7 separate regions of the Homo sapiens genome follow, and all the other regions are linked to region 1. The links are contacts of gene promoters, found by promoter capture Hi-C in blood cells and fetal thymus (Javierre and others, 2016). All regions are on one chromosome and are shown on one strand. Each heading gives the region's core, a stretch centred on a gene start or on the middle of the fragment in contact. The rest is flanking DNA. Distances are from core to core; before and after follow the strand shown.

Evidence for each region. Contacts are between HindIII fragments. The CHiCAGO score rates a contact against its expected background, and 5 or more counts as called.
Region 2: a fragment that was not itself captured here is called in contact with the fragment with the promoter of OTUD6B in region 1 in 3 of 17 cell types (fetal thymus, neutrophils and monocytes); the score reaches 7.5 in fetal thymus.
Region 3: a contact is called between a fragment that was not itself captured here and the fragment with the promoter of OTUD6B in region 1, in 1 of 17 cell types (neutrophils). The highest score is 7.8, in neutrophils.
Region 4: a fragment that was not itself captured here is called in contact with the fragment with the promoter of OTUD6B in region 1 in 6 of 17 cell types (total CD4 T cells, naive CD8 T cells, neutrophils and 3 more); the score reaches 8.1 in total CD4 T cells.
Region 5: a contact is called between a fragment that was not itself captured here and the fragment with the promoter of OTUD6B in region 1, in 11 of 17 cell types (neutrophils, total B cells, total CD4 T cells and 8 more). The highest score is 11.9, in neutrophils.
Region 6: a contact is called between a fragment that was not itself captured here and the fragment with the promoter of OTUD6B in region 1, in 7 of 17 cell types (neutrophils, naive B cells, activated CD4 T cells and 4 more). The highest score is 9.2, in neutrophils.
Region 7: a fragment that was not itself captured here is called in contact with the fragment with the promoter of OTUD6B in region 1 in 2 of 17 cell types (neutrophils and total B cells); the score reaches 7.9 in neutrophils.

Annotation. Positions count from the first base shown.
Region 1 is chr8:91,068,971-91,071,670 of GRCh38, forward strand. OTUD6B (OTU deubiquitinase 6B) reads left to right here and starts at 1,374. Exons shown (of 7, transcript NM_016023.5): 1 at 1,374-1,496; 2 at 2,168-2,319. The coding sequence starts at 1,415. It overlaps OTUD6B-AS1 (OTUD6B antisense RNA 1), which reads right to left and starts at 1,219. Exons shown (of 3, transcript NR_110438.1): 1 at 961-1,219; 2 at 609-852. RefSeq lists an enhancer at 1,422-1,601. The HindIII fragment of the contact is 11,349 bases long and covers 1-2,700 here.
Region 2 is chr8:89,949,394-89,952,093 of GRCh38, forward strand. All of the region lies in intron 11 of NBN (nibrin), which reads right to left. Among named protein-coding and RNA genes, the nearest start is that of NBN, 34 kb to the right of the region's middle. The HindIII fragment of the contact is 3,364 bases long and covers 1-2,700 here.
Region 3 is chr8:89,856,824-89,859,644 of GRCh38, forward strand. No RefSeq gene overlaps it. Among named protein-coding and RNA genes, the nearest start is that of OSGIN2, 44 kb to the right of the region's middle. RefSeq lists a silencer at 1,058-1,352. The HindIII fragment of the contact is 8,587 bases long and covers 1-2,821 here.
Region 4 is chr8:89,931,222-89,933,921 of GRCh38, forward strand. NBN (nibrin) reads right to left here. Exons shown (of 16, transcript NM_002485.5): 16 at 2,110-2,700. Among named protein-coding and RNA genes, the nearest start is that of OSGIN2, 30 kb to the left of the region's middle. The HindIII fragment of the contact is 3,477 bases long and covers 1-2,700 here.
Region 5 is chr8:90,015,100-90,017,799 of GRCh38, forward strand. DECR1 (2,4-dienoyl-CoA reductase 1) reads left to right here. Exons shown (of 10, transcript NM_001359.2): 2 at 2,025-2,227. Among named protein-coding and RNA genes, the nearest start is that of DECR1, 15 kb to the left of the region's middle. The HindIII fragment of the contact is 1,413 bases long and covers 653-2,065 here.
Region 6 is chr8:90,033,033-90,035,732 of GRCh38, forward strand. The region is part of intron 5 of DECR1 (2,4-dienoyl-CoA reductase 1); the gene reads left to right. Among named protein-coding and RNA genes, the nearest start is that of DECR1, 33 kb to the left of the region's middle. The HindIII fragment of the contact is 2,032 bases long and covers 401-2,432 here.
Region 7 is chr8:89,876,854-89,879,553 of GRCh38, forward strand. No RefSeq gene overlaps it. Among named protein-coding and RNA genes, the nearest start is that of OSGIN2, 24 kb to the right of the region's middle. The HindIII fragment of the contact is 8,683 bases long and covers 1-2,700 here.

The sequences.
Region 1 (2,700 bases), core at 124-2,623:
ATTTTAATTCAGGTTCTCTGTTAGCTGCAGTAAATCCTTCAGCAAAATTTTCAGGGAAAGTTCTTGGTTGATATACTTTCCTAACCCCTGTATATCTAAGAATGTCTTCCAGTTTCCTTTGTAAAGAAATGATAACTTGGCAGAGTATATAATTCTTGGCTCAAAATTATTTTCCCTTAACACTCTAGATATTGTTCCACTGTCTTCTGGCATTTAGAATTGCAGGAGAAAAATCTGAGGTCAGCCTGACTTTTGCCCCTTTGTAAGTAACCTGCTTTCTCTGACTGGATGCTTGTAAAATGTTTCGTCTTTGAAATTCAAAAACGTCACCCGGATATGTCTAGATGCTGCTTTCTTTTCATTAAACTTTAAAGGTATCCTATGAGCCTTTTCCATTTGTAGATCTAGTTCGTTCTTCAATTCTGGAAAATTTTTTCAAGTAGATCCTTTATTGTTTCAGCTCCACTTGCTCTGTCCTCAGTTTCAGGTATTCCTATTATGCATAGATTGTATCTCCTGGACCGGCCCTCTAGATCTCTCTTTTTCTCCTCTTAATTTCTTTTCCCCTTTTCTCTGTATTCTGTGACAATTTGTCGTTTTGCACTTACTTCAGTAATTCGATTTTGTGGCCAATCCAGCGTGCGCCCTTCTGTTAACTCTCTCAACTTCCTGGTATTTTCCAAGCGCTCTAATAGTACCCTCTTTATCATCGCGCATAGGTGTTTAAGCTCCTGTATTATATGATTCTCAATCCTTCTTATATCTTGTTTCCATCTCTATATCCGTTTCAAGAGGAGGCATTTTCTCGATTATTTAGCGCTGCTCCTTTTTTCTCAGGGGCGGTATTACGACCTTGGAGACAATAAACATAATTTAATTCCACACAGCCCCAAACAGCCCAAAGATTCCCATTGATAATTATCGACGGCTTTATTAAAATGCGTTATTTTTCTTTCTTACCTTTTCAGTTGCTTTTCTTAGAAACAGGGACCAAAATCAAAGATTAAAGAGGTCCTCTGAAGCAGGGAATGAAATAGACGTTGAAAACTATTCCCGTTACGCCATCTCTGCGCGCCTCACGTCAGGGCCAAGAGCCTAGCGCGTAGCTTTATGGCTGACTCGGCTCTGGCGCTCTAGCCAATTCCGAGGCTGCAAACTCCGCTTCTCCGCTCGCAGTCTGGTTCCTCCCCTGCCGCCCCGCCCATCACGGCAGGGTCACGGTAGCGCGCACGCGCAGCACCCCATTTAAGTTTCTCGTCTTTGCAGTGGCTTTGCTTAGATCCGGTGCCGCCTTGAAGGCGGGGCTGGGTCCCAGCCGTAGCCAATGGAGCCCCGGGTGAGGGTTGAGGGGTGGAAGGTGCCTACTAGCCGGTGCAGGTTTCTTCTAGCGCGTGTGCTGGGGTACCTGGTCGTCATGGAGGCGGTATTGACCGAAGAGCTTGATGAGGAAGAGCAGCTGCTGAGAAGGCATCGCAAAGAGAAGAAGGAGTTGCAAGGTGAGGCGGAAGGAAGTGGGAATCTGGAAGCCGCCGCGACTGGGGGAAGGGCGCGTGGCGGGTCGATTCTGGGGAATCTCAAGGCGTGACTTATCTGGATCACCCTAGACTTCCCCTAGTAGCAAGTGGCCTCTTCTCTCTTCACCTACCCCGGCGGCCCTTTAATTCCCCAACCTTCAGAGGCTTCCCCTTCTGAGGCCTGCGGCGTGCCCCCTACCCCGCGCCGCCGCCGGGGTGCAGGTGTCTGAAAATACCTAGAAGCCGCCGTCTTGGTCCGCTCCCAAACCCACGATGCCTCCCTTTTCTATACCTGCCCCAGTTACCGATACTTGTCCCTAATGGGTGTATTTTGAATGGACCCGCCTCAGTTTAGGAGGTTCAGAAAGGATACCGGAAAGATTTAAAACTGGCTACAGTCAGGTTTTTTTCCTTCTCTTATCTCGCCAAACAACCGAAACATATTCAAGATTTTGTTAATGAAGTTTTTTTTTTTTTTGGTCTCAGCTTTATCTGGGATCTTCTCTCTCTGTAGCTGCCTGTTACGTGATGACTCTTTCTTCCATAATTACTTTTTCTGTACCCTTCGCCCGTTACCATCCCCTTATTGGTTCCTGTTTCTCATCTCCTTTTACTCCTGCGTGTCTGACTTAATGATTTTAATGGCTTTTCAGCCAAAATTCAGGGCATGAAGAATGCTGTTCCCAAGAATGACAAGAAGAGGAGGAAGCAACTCACCGAAGATGTGGCCAAGTTGGAAAAAGAAATGGAACAGAAACATAGAGAGGAACTGGAGCAATTGAAGCTGACTACTAAGGAGAATAAGGTATGTGAAATAAATGTTTGTCGTTGCCTACACCATTTGAAAACAGCTGTCCACTTCTGTTAAATGTTAAACTGCTTTTTTTTTTTTTTTTGAGACGGTGTCTCGCTTTGCAAAACACGCTCAATCTTGGCTCACTGCAAGCTCCGCCTCCCGGGTTCAGGCCATTCTCCTGCCTCAGCCTCCCGAGTAGCTGGTACTACGGGCGCCCGCCACTACGCCCGGCTAATTTTTTGTATTTTTAGTAGAGACAGGGTTTCACCATGTTAGCCAAGACGGTGTCGATCTCCTGACCTTGTGATCCACCCGCCTCGGCCTCCCAAAGTGCTGGGATTACAGGCGTGAGCCACCGTGCCCGGCCCTGTTAAACTGTTTATTATCTAA
Region 2 (2,700 bases), core at 13-2,512, 1.1 Mb before region 1:
TGAAAAAATGCTATATAAAAATGCTTGACTTGAGAAAGGAGAGTACAATGAAGTGAAGAGGAAATATACTATAGACACAGTGGGTGCTGTTAAGGAGAAGAATGTTAAGGATCTTGAGTCAGTTTTGCATTTTATAGAGACTGGGAAACTGAAAGTAAGGCCAAGACTCAGGCACAGCTATCATTCGTATAAGGATAAAGTCCTAGGAGGAATATTAAGCTAATAGTTTTCCATTTCAGCTGACAGGAAATCTTACAGACATGCTATAATCTAAATTTAGATCCAAAAACAGAGAAATGACAGTTCTACCATCAACATCTATTGGAAAGTGCCTTTCTGAAATATAGCTAGGGATTCCAACACCAAAGAGAAGTATCACATTTTTTGCCTTCAAAAAATCGCCAAAAAAATGTTTAAATGAAAGGATTAAGAAGTATTTTTCTCTGACAGTCACTTCTGTAGCTAAAAAAATTAAGCACCAATTCCTTTAATCCATGAGATTAACATGGACTTTCAGACAAATTCTTAAAATAACAAAAATAAAATAATTTAAAACAACCCCACATTGAGTAAGGTTGATGGATTTTATCAATGTCAATTTCCTGGTTGTGATACTGTACTGTAGTTATGCAAGCTGTAACAATCAGGGGAAATTAGATAAAGGGTTCGCTGCATGTGGACAAACAATTGTCTCAAACAGTTTTTAAAAGTAACCTTACATTGAAAACAGAAATACTTTTGTAGCTATTACAGATTCTTACTAAAAATATTATAGTGCTGGAATACAGTGATTTAACTTGTAGTAGTCATCCCTGTGGTATCCCTGAGGAACTGGTTCCATGACTTCCCATGGACACCAAAATCCATGGATGCTCAAGTCCCTGATAAAAAAAAGCATAAATTTTGCATATAACCTAGGCACATCCTCTCATATACTTTAAATCATCTCTAGAATACTTACAATACCTAATACAATGTAAGTGCTACGTAAGTAGTTGTTATATTGCATTGTTTAGGAAATAATAATTTTTAAAAAGTTTGTACATGTACAGACGCATTTTTTTTTTCCCAAATACTTTCAATCACAGGTTGGTAAAATCAGAGGATGTGGGACCCATGGATACAGAGGGCCAACTGTATCTCAATGAGAGATACCGCAATTAAATTGCTATTCTTTCTCCAAAAGCCTACAACAACATATTTTGTACTGTAATTTTCATTTAGAATGTCATGAATTCTCAAACAGTAAAATAAAGGAAAAATGGAATTATGCTATAGAATCATAGGGCAAAATAAAATAATTATATTTCCTCATATCGTTATACCTCATATAAACCTTACATATTAAATGAAAGTTTCTTTCGGTCTATGAAAGACTGTTTGATGGCTCCCATGTCAAGGGTGTATAGTGCTCAGTTCTTGTCTTTCCCTGTCTGTGCTCTAATGCCCAGTGCCCTGAGTGACATAAGCCCTGGGAGAATGTGCAGTGAAAGTAGGTCTTCAGGAAGATTAATTAGCAGTCATCCAGGATGAGCCAAGGAGGGCTGTTACAGACTAAAACCACAACCATTTCCAGATAGATTTGTGGCCACCATAGCAGTAGACTAATCTGGGATGGAATTTAAGGGAAAAAAAGTGGGGTGGGGGTAGCTACTTAAAAAAAATTAAAGTCACTTTGGGAGGCCGAAGTGGGTGGATCACGAGGTCAGGAGATTGAGATCATCCTGGCTAACACAGCGAAACCCCATCTCTACTATAAGTACAAAAAATTAGCCAGGCGTGGTGGCGGGCGCCTGTAGTCCCAGCTACTAGGGATGCTGAGGCAGGAGAATGGCGTGAACCCGGGAGGCGGAGCTTGCAGTGAGCGGAGATCACGCCACTGAACTCCAGCCTGGGTGACAGAGCAAGACTCTGTCTCAAAAAAAAAAAAAAAAAAAAGATTAAAGCATGTACTAGGACAAGAAGACTAAAGAAAATAACATGTCAGAGAAAATCAGAGGAGAAGAGAGCACAGCAAGGGAAATGTATTTCCAAAGGTGTGGCCAAAGTAATGTAAAAAGTGCCTAACTTTCTAAACACTTACATGTAATATTAAGTAACCTGAATACAGATTCTGAAAAGTCTGGAACTAAAGTAACAATGTAAATCCATAATACCAACAGAATAAAGATAGCTTTATAAACATATGTAAATGTATTAAACTTAGCAAATGATGTCTTGGATTTCAACAAATGTCACATTAAACTAATTTACCTAGCTCTCCACCATAGTAGGAATTGCGACAGAAGTGACTTATAGAACATACAAATCTCTTGTTTCACTTAGTGCATCTGTGAAATGAGAGTAGTCTTAAATCCTTCACAATAAAAAAAAAACCTCTGTCTCTGAACTTCTCACTCTGGCTGCAAAATGGAATCCGATAATTCAACATTCATTCTCTCTTTTTTCCTTAAATGCAACTCTTTATCAGGGACAGCAATGTGCCAAGTTTAAAACATTTCCAGACTCTTCTAGATTGAGGATAGAGAGTGGCTAAATTATTTCCAATTCTGGCCAATAACAAAAGCTATTAAGTTGGGTTTCTGAGAAAGCTCCTTAGAAAACAGGGAGGAATTCAGCTGGAAAGGCCTTTACCTGTCCCCTCATCATCACATTCTCCCTCCCTGGAAAGTAGACTTGATGGCTGGAGGTATCCTCTCA
Region 3 (2,821 bases), core at 131-2,630, 1.2 Mb before region 1:
TTGTAAAAGTAGGATGATGGTGGCAGCCCCAGATCTTCTGTGCAGGTAGGGCGTTGGCATGGCAACCTGGCCACAAAGCTGGAGAACTGGTTTTGTAGACACCATTGCATAGCAGGTACACTATTTCACTCAGATTGGATGGAGCTTGAGGCTGCTGATGGCCTCTCCCAAGGCCCCACAACTCCCAAGGTCCTTGGCCCTATTCCATTAAGAGGCTTACCTAACTTTCTCTCAGTCACTGTGAGGCAGAGTTCGAACCAGAGCCAGAACTCCTAGTCTAGTTCTCTAACCCTTACTGTCTCACACTGACACTACGTTTGTTTTTGGAAATACAATATCTGTCTGAATTTATGCTATCTTTTTAGTTAACACTCTGCCCTTAGTAAATATAGAAAAGTAATGTATTCTTCAAAAGTAAGGTATTTAATCAAGGCTTAGAGAACTTTTTTCCTAGACATTTACTTTGCCTACCCTAGGAGGAGTCACTAATCAATATTATTGTTATTAAAGTAATAGGATTAATACAAGACCCACTTTACTGATCTTTCACTCTGGGCCAGGGAGTATGCTAAACCCTTTACAAACAATATGTCTAATCCTTACATCAGCACAATCAGAAAAATGTCATAGCTTCATTTTAAAGATGAGGGACTGAGACTCAGAGAGACCAAATAACTTAAATTCACATGGCTTCCTAACATCCATAGAGTCATCATTTACAACCAGGTCTCTGGGATTCTAAATTCCTGATATTTCCTCTGTATCACTCCGCCTCCTTGTGTTAGTAGACATTATTCTAATGATCAGAGAGACTGAACTTGTCTTATATATAACATACCTAATACGTAAATGTCTGTCCACTAAACTGCATATTCCTTGAGGACAGCATGTCCTACTCATTTTTGGATTTCGCATACCTAACAAAGTGCGTGGCACACAGCAAATGCTCAATAAGTGTTTAATAAATTAAAAAAAAATTTTGAGTATATAGATATATCTAATATTTCAAACAAAGCGTACTTTAAAACATTTTTAGTTTTTCTCAGTCAATAAAACTCTTGACCAAATAAAATCTCTGTCAAGCTACGGTTTTCACAAAATATAAAACTTTCTTTGTTTCCTAATAGCTGAGCTACAAGTAACTTTCTCACAGTTGGGGAAGGATCATGAGGTCACTCGGTCCACCCTGGAATGGAATGCCCACTTGTTGCTTGTTCAGGGAACTGATGATGCCAACAATTCTTTGTCTTTGGTATAATCAGACTCTGAAGTGGGTCCAGCCCTCTCGGTACAGGCTGCCAATGCAGGCAGCATCACTTCCAGATAATTTCCCTCGGTTCTGCTGACTTGGAAAATCAACTCCCAGTCAGACAGGGTGCCCCTATTCAGATGGGACCAATGTTTCTTAACCTTTCTTTTTAGGGGTTGGGGGGTGCTGGAGGAGATGCATGAAACATTTTGAAATAAAAAAGGATTCATGTGAATCCTGAAGCCAAGGTCAATCAACACTTAAAATAAGATTTAAAAGTAAACTATTTTGCAAAACCAAGCATTTTCTTTTCCCACTTCTAAAATATTTTCTAATGGCAATGATTTGAGTTGGGTAAAGTATAGCTTTCAGTGTTTTATCTAATAGATGGAGAGACATCAGAGTGATTTCTGACACTCCTTATGACCCAAAACATTATTCAGCAGCAGCTTGTCCTGGCTATTTTTTCATTCTACTGTTGGCATTGGCACATCTGGGGAAAGTTCGTATTTCCGTCAAAGAAAAACACAGGTTAAAAGAAAACTACATAGTATAATTTTATTTCCACTGAGTGAGCTTGGCAAGCTATTACAACTTTCACTCTTAAGCTCTATGTATAAGATGTTAGTTATCTAGGGGTTATACTCACTTCTTACACATTTAAAGGCAGCAATACATGCTGAGTTATGGCTATGAAGAATCTCCCTACAGCTATTCTCAGAGTCAAGACAGGGCCCTGACCACTATGTTTACAAGTGTTTTTGACTTTGCAGTATCTGCAACTACAGATGGCACACACAAAGTATCCCCAAACACTTTCTTGGCAAAACCAGTTTGGAAACCTTTATCTTACTCATGAGGCATGTTTCTGTTATGTAATACAGCACGCTGTGAAGAATCACAAGGCCTGGAAGGACTGTACCCTCTCCAGCATTTCTAGATCAGAGGTGAAATAACAAAAGAATATGAATTGATAAGACTATAAAGAGAAAATGTTTTATCAAGCTGTAGTTGAGGGAAATTGCAGTGATCCACCCAAAGGCCTGTTATTTGCTCTGGTAAACATTATCATTTTACTATTTTACAACTGAGGAAGCCAAGTTTGGGAGAATATAACTAACTTTCCCAGTAGCACTGCTAGATAATATGACAAAGGTAAGATGACAAAGTCAAATGATCCCATATTCCAATACCACATGGATTCTGACATCCTTTCCTTAACTGAATACATGTGAAAAATACTATTGTTTAGTTATTTCAGATACTATGGGAGGCAACATTAATGTGAATAATAGAGTGTAAATAAAAGAAACATTTTCTTAAACTTTGATATGTGTTTCCATATCTGTGTTTGAATATGGATGTTGCTAAAACCCTTAAAATTCATATAACTGCCTCATTCCCCAAAGCCAGGGGAGAAATTTAGCTATCTTGATTTCAAAGCAAACCTCATATTTCTTTCCCTTTCAATGACTTTTGGATTTGGAATTTCCAAGGCACAAAATGAGATTAATGTACTTACAGGGATAAAATAACTGATTTGAAATCAGAATTGTTTGAAACACATGGTTA
Region 4 (2,700 bases), core at 187-2,686, 1.1 Mb before region 1:
CATTACCAACCACTGATCTGACATTTATAGAACTACTACACCCCTAAACTGCAGAATACTCATTCTTTTTATGTGCAACCAGAATATTCACCAAAATGGGCCAACAATATGCTTGCCCATAAAACAAGTCTCAAAAAATTTAAAAAGATTAAAATATGACTGAATATGATCTCTGACAACAGTGGAATTTTAGAAATAGTAACATATAGAAATAAATAGCAATTAACTATTGTATCTTTTGGTAGATGGAAAAATTATATTTGGAAATTAGTCCATACATCAGTGAAAAAAAATCACAGGGAAATTAGGACATTTTTTGAGCCAAAAGATCACTCAAGTAACCAAATTTGTCACATGCAGCTAAAGAGGTGTGTTGAGTGAAATTCTAAATACTCATTTTTGAAGCTGGGTTTAAAATCAATGATCTACAAAGGACTAGGGAAAAAGAGCAAATTAAACCCTAAGTAAGCAGAAGCAAGGAAAGTGAAAATCAATGAAATAGAAAAAGGAGAGGCCAGGCACGGTGGTTCATGCCTGTAATCCCAGCTACTCAGGAGCCTGAGGCAGGAGTATCGCTTGAACCTGGGAGGCAGAGGTTGCAGTGAGCCAAGATCGCACCATTTCACTCCAGCCTGGGAGGCAGCGAGACAGAGTCTCAATAAATAAATAAATAAATAAATAAATAATAGAAAAAGGACATACATTAGAGAAAAATCAATGAAATTAAATGTTCTTCAAACAAATTTAATTTATAAACCTCTAGTTAGAGAAGAACCAAAGAACACAAGGTTCAGGTAACAAGAAAGGAAAGGGAGACTCCATGACATATTACAGACATTTTAACGCAAATACTATAAACTTTTATACCAATACATTTCACAACTTACTGGAACATATGAAGTCCTTAAAAGATGCAAACTACTGAAACTACTAGAGGTAGAAAATCTATAGTTCCTTGAGATAAAAAATAAAGACATTTAACATTGTATTGACAGCCACTGTAATAGGTAAGAAAAAGAAAAGACAAAAACAATTGGAAGGAAGAAGTAAAACTGCCTGTATTCACCAATGACATGATTGTGTACTTAAAATCCTAAGGAATCTGCCAAAAAAAAAAAAATTTTGCCAGAATAGGTGAGATTAGCAAGTTCACAGGATCCAAATTCTATACACCAAAAGTAATTGTATTTTCATATAGAATAAATCATTGCAAGATGAACTTTCTGAAAGTATCGTTTACAGTACCAAAAAAATGCTTAGGGACAGATTAAAACAGATGTCTGAGCCTCTACAGTGAAACTACAAAACAATGTGGAAAGAGTAGATCTAAGTAAATGAATAGACATTTTACATGCATGGATTGAAAGACTGAATATTTTTAAGATGTCAGTTCTTCACAAATTGATTTTTAGATTCAGCACAATAATTCTAGCCGATTTTTGGGATAGAAATTGACATGCTCAGAGGACTGATGTATCTGACTTCTAGACTTCCTGCATAGTCCTGACTTACCATTTTTTGACTAGATGGTAGTACAAGAGTGATAGACATTCAGTAGAAAGCCTACTTTGAATTTTGTTCTTTTCCCTGGCTAGTAATGTGCCCATAGAATACTCAATCTTGCAATGCTGGGCAGCAGCAGCAAGCCGTAGCTTCCCGTCAGCCACAGCATCAAGAGGGTAAAAACTGATTCTTGCTCTTTGTGAAGAACACTATTCCTGCTAAACCATCAAGTATTGATGCCCTTAGTGCCTTCAACCAATGCTTCTACTCAAGCCTAATCAGTAGGGAAATTGATAATCCTGTTGCTGTAGTATTCCCCATCATGCCGCAATTTTAGTTCAATGCTTCAAACATTCTTCAGGCCCAGTGCGCTTTCAGCTGTGTATGTTTATAGTGAGTAGCTACACAATCATTCTGTTTTTTGCTTTCAGTTTACTATTCAATAAATTAGATGAAATATTCAGTACTTTACAATAAAATAGCTTTTGTGTTAGATGATTTTGCCCAACTATAGGCTACTGTGTCATGAGTACATTTAAGGTAGGCTAGGCTAAGCTATGACGTAGGTTAAGGTGTATTAAATGCACTTTTGACTTAAATACAGTATTTTCAACTTACATTGCGTTTATTACAATGTAATCCCAACTTAAGGAGCATCTATGCAGCTACAGTAATTCAAGGCAGTATGGTATGAGTGAGTGCAAGGATGGACAAACATTTCAGTGTAACCAAACAGAAAGTCCAGAAACAGATCCACCATTATGGTTAATTGATTTTTTACTAATTGGCAAGGTAATTTAATGAGGAAAGGATAATTCTTTCAATAAACAGTGTTACAATGACTGGATACTTGTATGGGGGAAAAAAAGAACCCTGATCCATAATTCACAACATACATATCAATTCAAGGTAGATCACAAATATAAAAATATAAAGTTTATATAATAGAGCAGAATATCTGAAATCTTGGGGTTAAATTGGAGAGAAAAAATATCAAACAAAAGAAAAAAATAAATTTGACCTTGTCAAAATTTAAAACTTCTATTCATCAAAAGACATAAAGAAAACAGTCAAGCCACAGACTAGGTGTAATATCTCAATACATATATCCGACAAGAGACTTGCATCTAGAATGTATAAAGAATTTCTATGACCCAATTATAGCTATCAGGGATATACAAATTAAAACCAAAATGA
Region 5 (2,700 bases), core at 109-2,608, 1.1 Mb before region 1:
TAAAGATCTAATCATACTTATTGGATAGATTTGGAAAGTACTAAAAACCAATCAAACAAACAAACAAAAAAAAACAAATAATTATCTATAATCTCATCACTTAACCATAACTGTAAAGTAATGGGTGGACTCTGAAGTCAGACAGATACTGGATTTAAGTCTTTATTCCCTATTATTATTTATCTTTAACAGCTAGCTACTTGACCTTTCTGTGCTTCAGTTTTTTTCATCTATAAAATAGAAGTAACAATTGAATTTACCTTATAGAGCTGTTTTGAGGACTGTATGGTAAATATTGAATCTACTACTTACTGTTGTTATTTCCTTCTAGTCTTTTTTTCTAAGCATATATTTTTATTTGTAGTTAAAAACATACTGTATATTTGTTTCTTTTTTTTCATTTAACATCACATTATAAACATTTTCTTGTGCAATTTCCAGGTGATGAACAGCCTCCTTCTAAATCATTGACCACATTTCTTATTCTTTCCTGAGGATAAATTTCAAGATATCCTGAACCAACTGATGACAGCCTATTTAGCTACAGGAATACTCTGGAAGGAAATGGTAGCTTCTGGAGTTTTAACTGGAGTGTTAATCTTGCCACCATGACCTAATGGAATATCACATAACCTCCCTGGTGTGACCATTAAGCTTAGCAGGATCTCAGAGAATAGACAGAGGAATATGCAAGCTGGTTATCAGAGAAGGCTCTGGAGCCTGTCAGTCAGTTTGAACCTTGGTTCTGCAACTTTGGCAATATATATATTTTTTATCACTCTGAGCCCTTTCTGTACAATAGGATAAAACTAATACCTATTTCATGTGGTTGTTTGGAAGATTAAATAGTTTGATATGTAATCCTGGCAGGTGGTAACTACTTAATGAATGTTAGCTCCTATTGTTCATTATATTAGATACCTAAAGTTTGTTTTATGATTAAATGCGAGAGAATGGCAGTGATGTTCGCATGTAATGTGAGTACAAGCTGTTAACATATAAAATAGGGCAATACAAATATTTTTTACTCCGAAATGGATTGATTTTCCTCCCATTTAAAATAAATAACAGAAATATTCTGTTTTATGTTTTGTGGCCAGAAGCTAGCATGGGAAGAGGCATTTGATTTAATAATCCTTATAGAGAATTTTTAACAATTTTCTTCAGTAATTCAAAGGTGGAAAGTGATTTTTGTCCAGATTATTCTTGTTGAAAGACAAAAATGCTTTATGTTAGTTTTTTAAAAATTAAATTTGGTCGGGTGTGGTGGCTCATGCCTGTAATCCCAGCTCTTTGGGAGGCCGAGGTGGGCAGATCATGAGGTCAGGAGATCGAGACCATCCTAGCCAACATGGTGAAACCCTGTCTGTACTAAAAATACAAAAATTTAACGGCGTGGTGGTGTGTGCCTGTAATCCCAGCTACTCTACTCGGGAGGCTGAGGCAGGAGAATCGCTTGAACCTGGGAGGCGGAGGTTGCAGTCAGCCAAGATCATGCCACTGCACTCCAGCCTGGCTACAGAGCGAGACTCCATCTCAAAAAAACAAACAAACAAAACAAAACAAAACAAAACCAAAAACCAAAACAAAACACAACAATTTAATTTAAGCAAAACACCTGCAGCTAATAATGGTAGCATTTGTAGTGCTTACTATGTGCTACACACTGCTCTAGGTGCTTTACCTGTAATAACTCATATAATCCTCACAATGCCATATGAAGAAATTTATTTTATTGTCCCCATTTTGTAGATGAAGGAACTGAGGCACAGAGAGGTCAAATAACCTGCTGAAAGTTACATAGCTTGGGAGAAAATTCTGTGCTATGTAGTCCAGCTCCAGAGCCTGTGCTTTTTAAATCAGAAAACAAAGAATAATAATTAAGTACAATACCAATATGTTTGCAGTGAGTTTGTGTTAATACAAGAATTTGATTACTATTAAATTCAAGAGCATGTTTTAAAAAATTCATCTGTTTTTTGGAAATATATGTATGCAAATTTAAATTCATTTTCCCCTTTTAGTTTTTCAGTTATGGGACAAAAATATTATATCAAAACACTGAAGCTTTGCAATCTAAATTCTTTTCACCTCTTCAAAAAGCGATGCTACCACCTAATAGTTTTCAAGGAAAAGTGGCATTCATTACTGGGGGAGGTACTGGCCTTGGTAAAGGAATGACAACTCTTCTGTCCAGCCTAGGTGCTCAGTGCGTGATAGCCAGCCGGTAAGTCCCTTACATCAAGCCTATTGGCGACGCTTTTGAAGAAACTGTTCTGTGCCATAGTATTGAAAACACTGTTCGCCAGAGTTGTTTGATTAGCATCTTAATCTTATATGAAATACTAGAAATATTATTTAGATTATTTAAATACATCTTTTTGGAAAAAGTTAGGTACTATTTGAGATGAAAGAAACAATGAAAATTGTGGAACTGATGTTTGGGTAAACATCCGCAATTTTCATTATTTTAATTTCTCCAATTCAGTGGTAGAATATTTCTTTTTCTGTACACGAAGATGAAGTTAAAAAGTACGACATGGAGCCAGGTGGGATGGTGTGTGCCTGTAATCCCAGCTACTGGGAAGCTGAGGCAGGAAGATCACTTGAAGCCCAGAATTTGAGACCAGCTGGGCAACATAGTGAGACCTTGTCTCAAAAGAAACATTTTTTTTTTAAGCACTATATGGAGGTTGCTTT
Region 6 (2,700 bases), core at 167-2,666, 1.0 Mb before region 1:
GGATGCGACTTCCCCAGTCTCATAGCTACACAGCTAGTAAATAGTGGAATCAGTTTCTGAGCCCAGGTGTCTATACTATTCCCCTTCTGTTGGTCATTGGAACTAAATTTGTTTAGTGATTCTTTCAATTCATAGTTTGTATTGAAACCAGATTTTAGAACTTTTGAATCTTCTTTTGAAATTAGATCATAATCTTGCACATATCATAGCTTTTTTGATAGATAATATGATTTTTGATGTTCTTTTATTACTATTTTTTTCCATTTCAAAATAACAAAGGATGGACTAACATAATATTTATTTCATTTATTGCTTCCCTTCTCTATTTTCTTAACCTCATTAATAATATAGATTCATTTCTGTTGTCTGCTCTGAGCTGTTAGAAACTTGACTTTTATAAAGCTTTTCCATGAGCAGTTATTCTAACTGAAATAATGGGCCTCTGTACAAGAAGGAAAATATATGTGACTAACCCTGGGGATCTAGGAATTCTTTACTTTGCACTTTAGCACCACTGTTCATTTTTTTGAAGCCGATAATTGTTTCACCTTGCAGCATTAATGCTATTGGAACAGTGCAGTTTCAAACCTTTATCTCCCTTTTACACTCATGAGAATTAAAAGCTGCAGTATATTATTCTAAGAGGTGGGCTACCCAAATTTTCTAGGCTGAGAAAATAAAACCTTAAAGGGATAAAAAGAATAGTAAAATAACTTTCATTTCAGCATCTAAATTGTAGTAGGATGGCTTAACTCCTTTCCCACACTTGGAGAAATGTATTTGTTCAGTCTTAGTTGAAAGATAGTGCACTTTCCATTGGAGCATTTGCTTTGTATTTGCCACTTTTAAAGCAGTTTTTTTTCTTTTGTAATTTTGCTATAAGAATGATACAGTTAGCATCTGTTGTCAATGTACTGTAATGGAGCCCACTAATGTTCTACATCCCTCCTCTTTCATGGAGTACGATTTTGGAAGCAAAGTAATTTTCAGCAATCTGAAAGGCTGTTTGATATATAGAAGGAGTTACCAGAATGATTAACATAACCATTCTTATTTTTTCCTATCCTCAAAATGGTACTCCTGCCCCCTCTTCCACCCCCGTGTTTCCCAGGATGTGCTGAGTTTTCTTTCTACTCTGGAACATGCTGAGAGAAAGAGAAACTAAATATATGGAGCAGAGAAAAAACTTATCTGAATATTCTTCAAAATACTTTCCTTGTAGTCCTTCAAATTTAAATTTCTAAAAGTATTTGCTGTTATGTAAAAGATGTAAACTTATTTTGATCCTTTTGCAAATATTAAGTATTGTCTTATCCCGTGTTATGAATAAATAAGAAGTAGAGAAATCACTGATTTCTCAGGACCTAAAGATTACCCTTTTAAGCCTTTATTTGTTTATTTATTTATTTGTTTGTTTGTTTATTTATTTATTTTTTGAGATGGAGTCTCACTCTTGTCACCCAGACTGGAGTGCACTGGCATCATCTCGGCTCACTGCATCCTCTGCCTCCTGGGTTCAAGTGATTCTCCTGCCTCAGCCTCCTGAGTAGCTGGAATTACAGGCATGCCCTACCACACCTGGCTAATTTTTGTATTTTTAGTACAGGCAGGATTTCACTATGTTGGCCAGGCTGGTCTCGAACTCCTGACCTCAGGTGATTTGCTCCCCTTGGTCTCCCAAAGTGCTGGGATTACAGGCATGAGCCACTGTGCCTGGCCTTATTCAGTTAATTTATTGAGAACCTGCTGTGTCCTAGACACTATTGACCACTGTATATGCAGTATCACTTTGTAATATAGCTTTTATACAATCATTTTAAAAAGAAATTTAGAAAACAAGAAAAAATATTTTATATTTACCTACATATTTACTATTTCTTTCCTTTTGACAATCTCAGTTTCTCTATAATATCATTTTCATATCACCTTGATTTTTGAAGGGTATTTTTGATGGATATGGAATTCAGAGTTAAGTTTTATCTTTCAACACCTTAAAAATATAACTCCATTGTCTTCTAGCTTACATTATTTTTAGAAATGAGAAGACAATGAAAATTTTTGTCTGTGTTTGTGTATTTTTATTGCTTATTTTTACCTTTGGCTGCAATTAGGATTCTATATATCATTGGTTTTCAGTTATTGATTATGATAATGTATTGATTTTTTTCCCTGTTTATCCTGCTTGGGATTCATTTAGCTTTCTGCATTGTAAGTTATAGTTTTTACCAAATTCGGAATTTTTTTAGTCCTTATTCAAGTGCTTTTTCTTCCTCTGTGACTCTAACTATACGTTTGTTAGAATGCTAGATACTGTTCCATAGGTCAGTGAGGTTCTGGGTTTTTCCTCAGTTTTTTTTTTCCCATTTGTCTTTCATTTTGGATAGTTTATATTGCTGTGTCTTCAGATTCATGGATCTTTTCTTCTACAGCTAAGCTTATTTGTTCAATTTTTCCTTTCAGATGCTGTATTTTTCTGCTGTAGAAGCCATATTGGTTTCTATTTTGTATTTTCCATTTTTCTCATCATATAAATATTTTCAGTGAAATCTTTTAAAATATTTGTAATAGCATTTAAAAGGCTGTTTGTCTGCTACATCTGTCTTCTCTGTCATTTCTGGGACTCTTTGTCTATTAATCATTTTTCTCCTTGTTAGGTTTCTGTGTCTTTTTATGTGCAGTAATTTTTTATTGCATGCTGTG
Region 7 (2,700 bases), core at 81-2,580, 1.2 Mb before region 1:
TTATCCAAGGTCTCATTAAGGGTTCATCTAGGGAAGAAGCCTGTGGGACATTTGAGATATCTGGAAGTGGCTAGGTGTCCTTGCTGTAAACCCATCTGTGTCCTAGGGTAGAGCCCTCCCCCATTTCAGTGAGGTGTGAAGAGTCTTTGCAGAGGGCTTTAGGAATGGACTGTTGTGAGCTTTCCTTCTCACTCCCTGTTCCCATCCAGCCCCTTGTGCTCCCATTACCAACCACATTTCTAAATTTTCATTTGGATTGCTTTATTTCTGACCTAGCTTAGCTAGCCATTAAGCTCTGTCTTATTTATATAATTATGAGGTTGATTTTTAAAAAGTATATAAGGGAAATATGAGTCTTAAATTTTTCTTAAAAAAATTTTTTTCTAGCTGTTTGTCCACGTTTCCATGTTTCAATTTTCAGAACAAATTAGTTTTTCTTAAGACATTCTCTGCAGAAAGACAACACTGCATACTCAAATTCTTTTATTTATTTAAAGATTGTGTCATTCCAGATAAAGAACTTGTTTTTCTGGTAAGAAATAACTTACCTTAAATGAATTCCTTATGTCTCTTAAAGCAGGGAGGAGCCTGATCTCTAATATAATCTGTGAATGTAACATCCATTAGAACACAACATGGTTTGCTTTCCACTCTTTCATTTAAAGAGTTTTATATTAGACCTTGGCCGTATATTTGGAGTGGAGGAAGAGAACTGTGATAGAGATATGGCCATGACCATCTAGCTTTCTCAATGGACAACTGGATTTGATACAAAAAGACCTCAACCCTGAGCCAACCCAAACCTGTAGTACACTGCGGGATAAAAACACAGAAAAGAGCCAGGTGCGGTGGCTCACGCCTGTAATCTCAGCACTTTGGGAGGTCGAGGTGGGCGGATCACAAGGTCAAGAGATCGAGACCATCCTGGCCAACATGGTGAAACCCCGTCTCTACTAAAAATACAGAAATACAAAAATTAGCTGGGCGTGGTGATGCGTGCCTGTAGTCCCACCTACTCAGGAGGCTGAGGCAAGAGAACTGCTTGAACCCGGGAGGTGGAGGTTGCAGTGAGCCAAGATCGGGCCACTGCACTCCAGCCGGGACAGAGCAAGACTCCGTCTCAAAAAAGAGAAAACAAGCAAATGAACAAACAAAAAAACCCAAAGAGAAGAGTTCAGAATGGGACTTACCTGGTTTTGATGTTTAAGTTAGTAAATCCCATGTTTTATGCCTAAATGCTCAACAGGAAGGAATATAATTAAATGTTATGATATAAAACAATAGTGTACACTATTAGGAAATTATTAAAATAAGATTTTAAAAGAATATTTAATAAAATCAGAATTTTAAAAGTATGTGTATATATATCTAGTATATGTTTATATCGGTACATATATGTATATTATAGAAGGAAATATACAAAATATTAACAGTTGTTACATTTAGTGGTATGCTTCTTATATCTCTAATTCTCTTTTATTCTTTCTTTCTTTTTTTTTTTTTTTTTAAAGAGTCTTGCTCTGTCACCCAGGCTGGAGTGCAGTTGCACCATCTCAGCTCACTGCAAACTTTGCCTCTTGTATTCAAGAAATTCTTGTGCCTCAGCCTCCTAAGTAACTGGGACTACAGGCGTGCACCACCACGCCTGGCTAATTTTGTATTTTTTGTAGAGATGGAATTTCACCATGTTGGCCAGGCTGCTCTCGAACTCCTGACCTCCAGTGATCCACCCACCCTGGCCTCCCAAAGTGCTGGAATTACAGGTATGAGCCATCACATCTGGACTCATTTTCTTTTCTTTTTTTTTTTTACAGAAATATATACCCTTTTTCTTAATTTTCTGTAATGACCATATATTACTTCTAAAGTAGAAATTTAAATATATTTTAATGGAAGAGGGTTATTAGCTTAAACATGTTTGAAAATTATAGAGAATAAATGTTTTTAAAAACATTCCAGGCTGGGCATGGTAGCTCACGCCTGTAATCCCAGCACTTTGGGAGGCTGAGGTGGGTGGATCACAAGGTCAAGAGACTGAGACCATCCTGGCCAACATGGTGAAACCCTGTCTCTACTAAAAGTACAAAAATTAGCTGGGCGTGGTGGTGCACGCCTATAATCCCAGCTACCTGGGAGGCTGAGGCAGGGGAATTGCTTGAACCTGGGAGGCGGAGGTTGCAGTGAGCGGAGATGGTGCCATAGCACTCCAGCCTGGCAACAGAGTGAGACGCTGTCTAAAAAAAAAAAAAAAAAAAAAAAAAAAAACCACTCCAGATGTTTGATAAACCCACAATGTCTCTTCCTAATAAAATTCATTTTTCAAGAATTGCTAAACTGGCCAGGTCAGTGGCTCACACCTGTAATCCCAATGCTTTGGGAGGCCAAGGCAGGAAGATCATTTGAGGCCAAGTGTTCTAGACCAGCCTGGGTAATGCAGTGAGACTCTGTCTCTACAAACATTTTTAAAAAAAAATTAGCCAGGCATATTGGTGTGTGCCTATAGTCCTAGCTACTCAAGAGGCTGAGGCAGGAGGATCACTTGAGCCTAGGAGTTTGAGGCTACTGTGTAGCCTGGGCAACAGAGTAAGATCCTGTCTCAAAAAAAACAAACAAAAACAAACAAACAAAAAAACAAGACAATAAAAAACAAACAACCCAATAATGGGCAAAAGATTTGAATACCCACTTCACTAAAGAAGA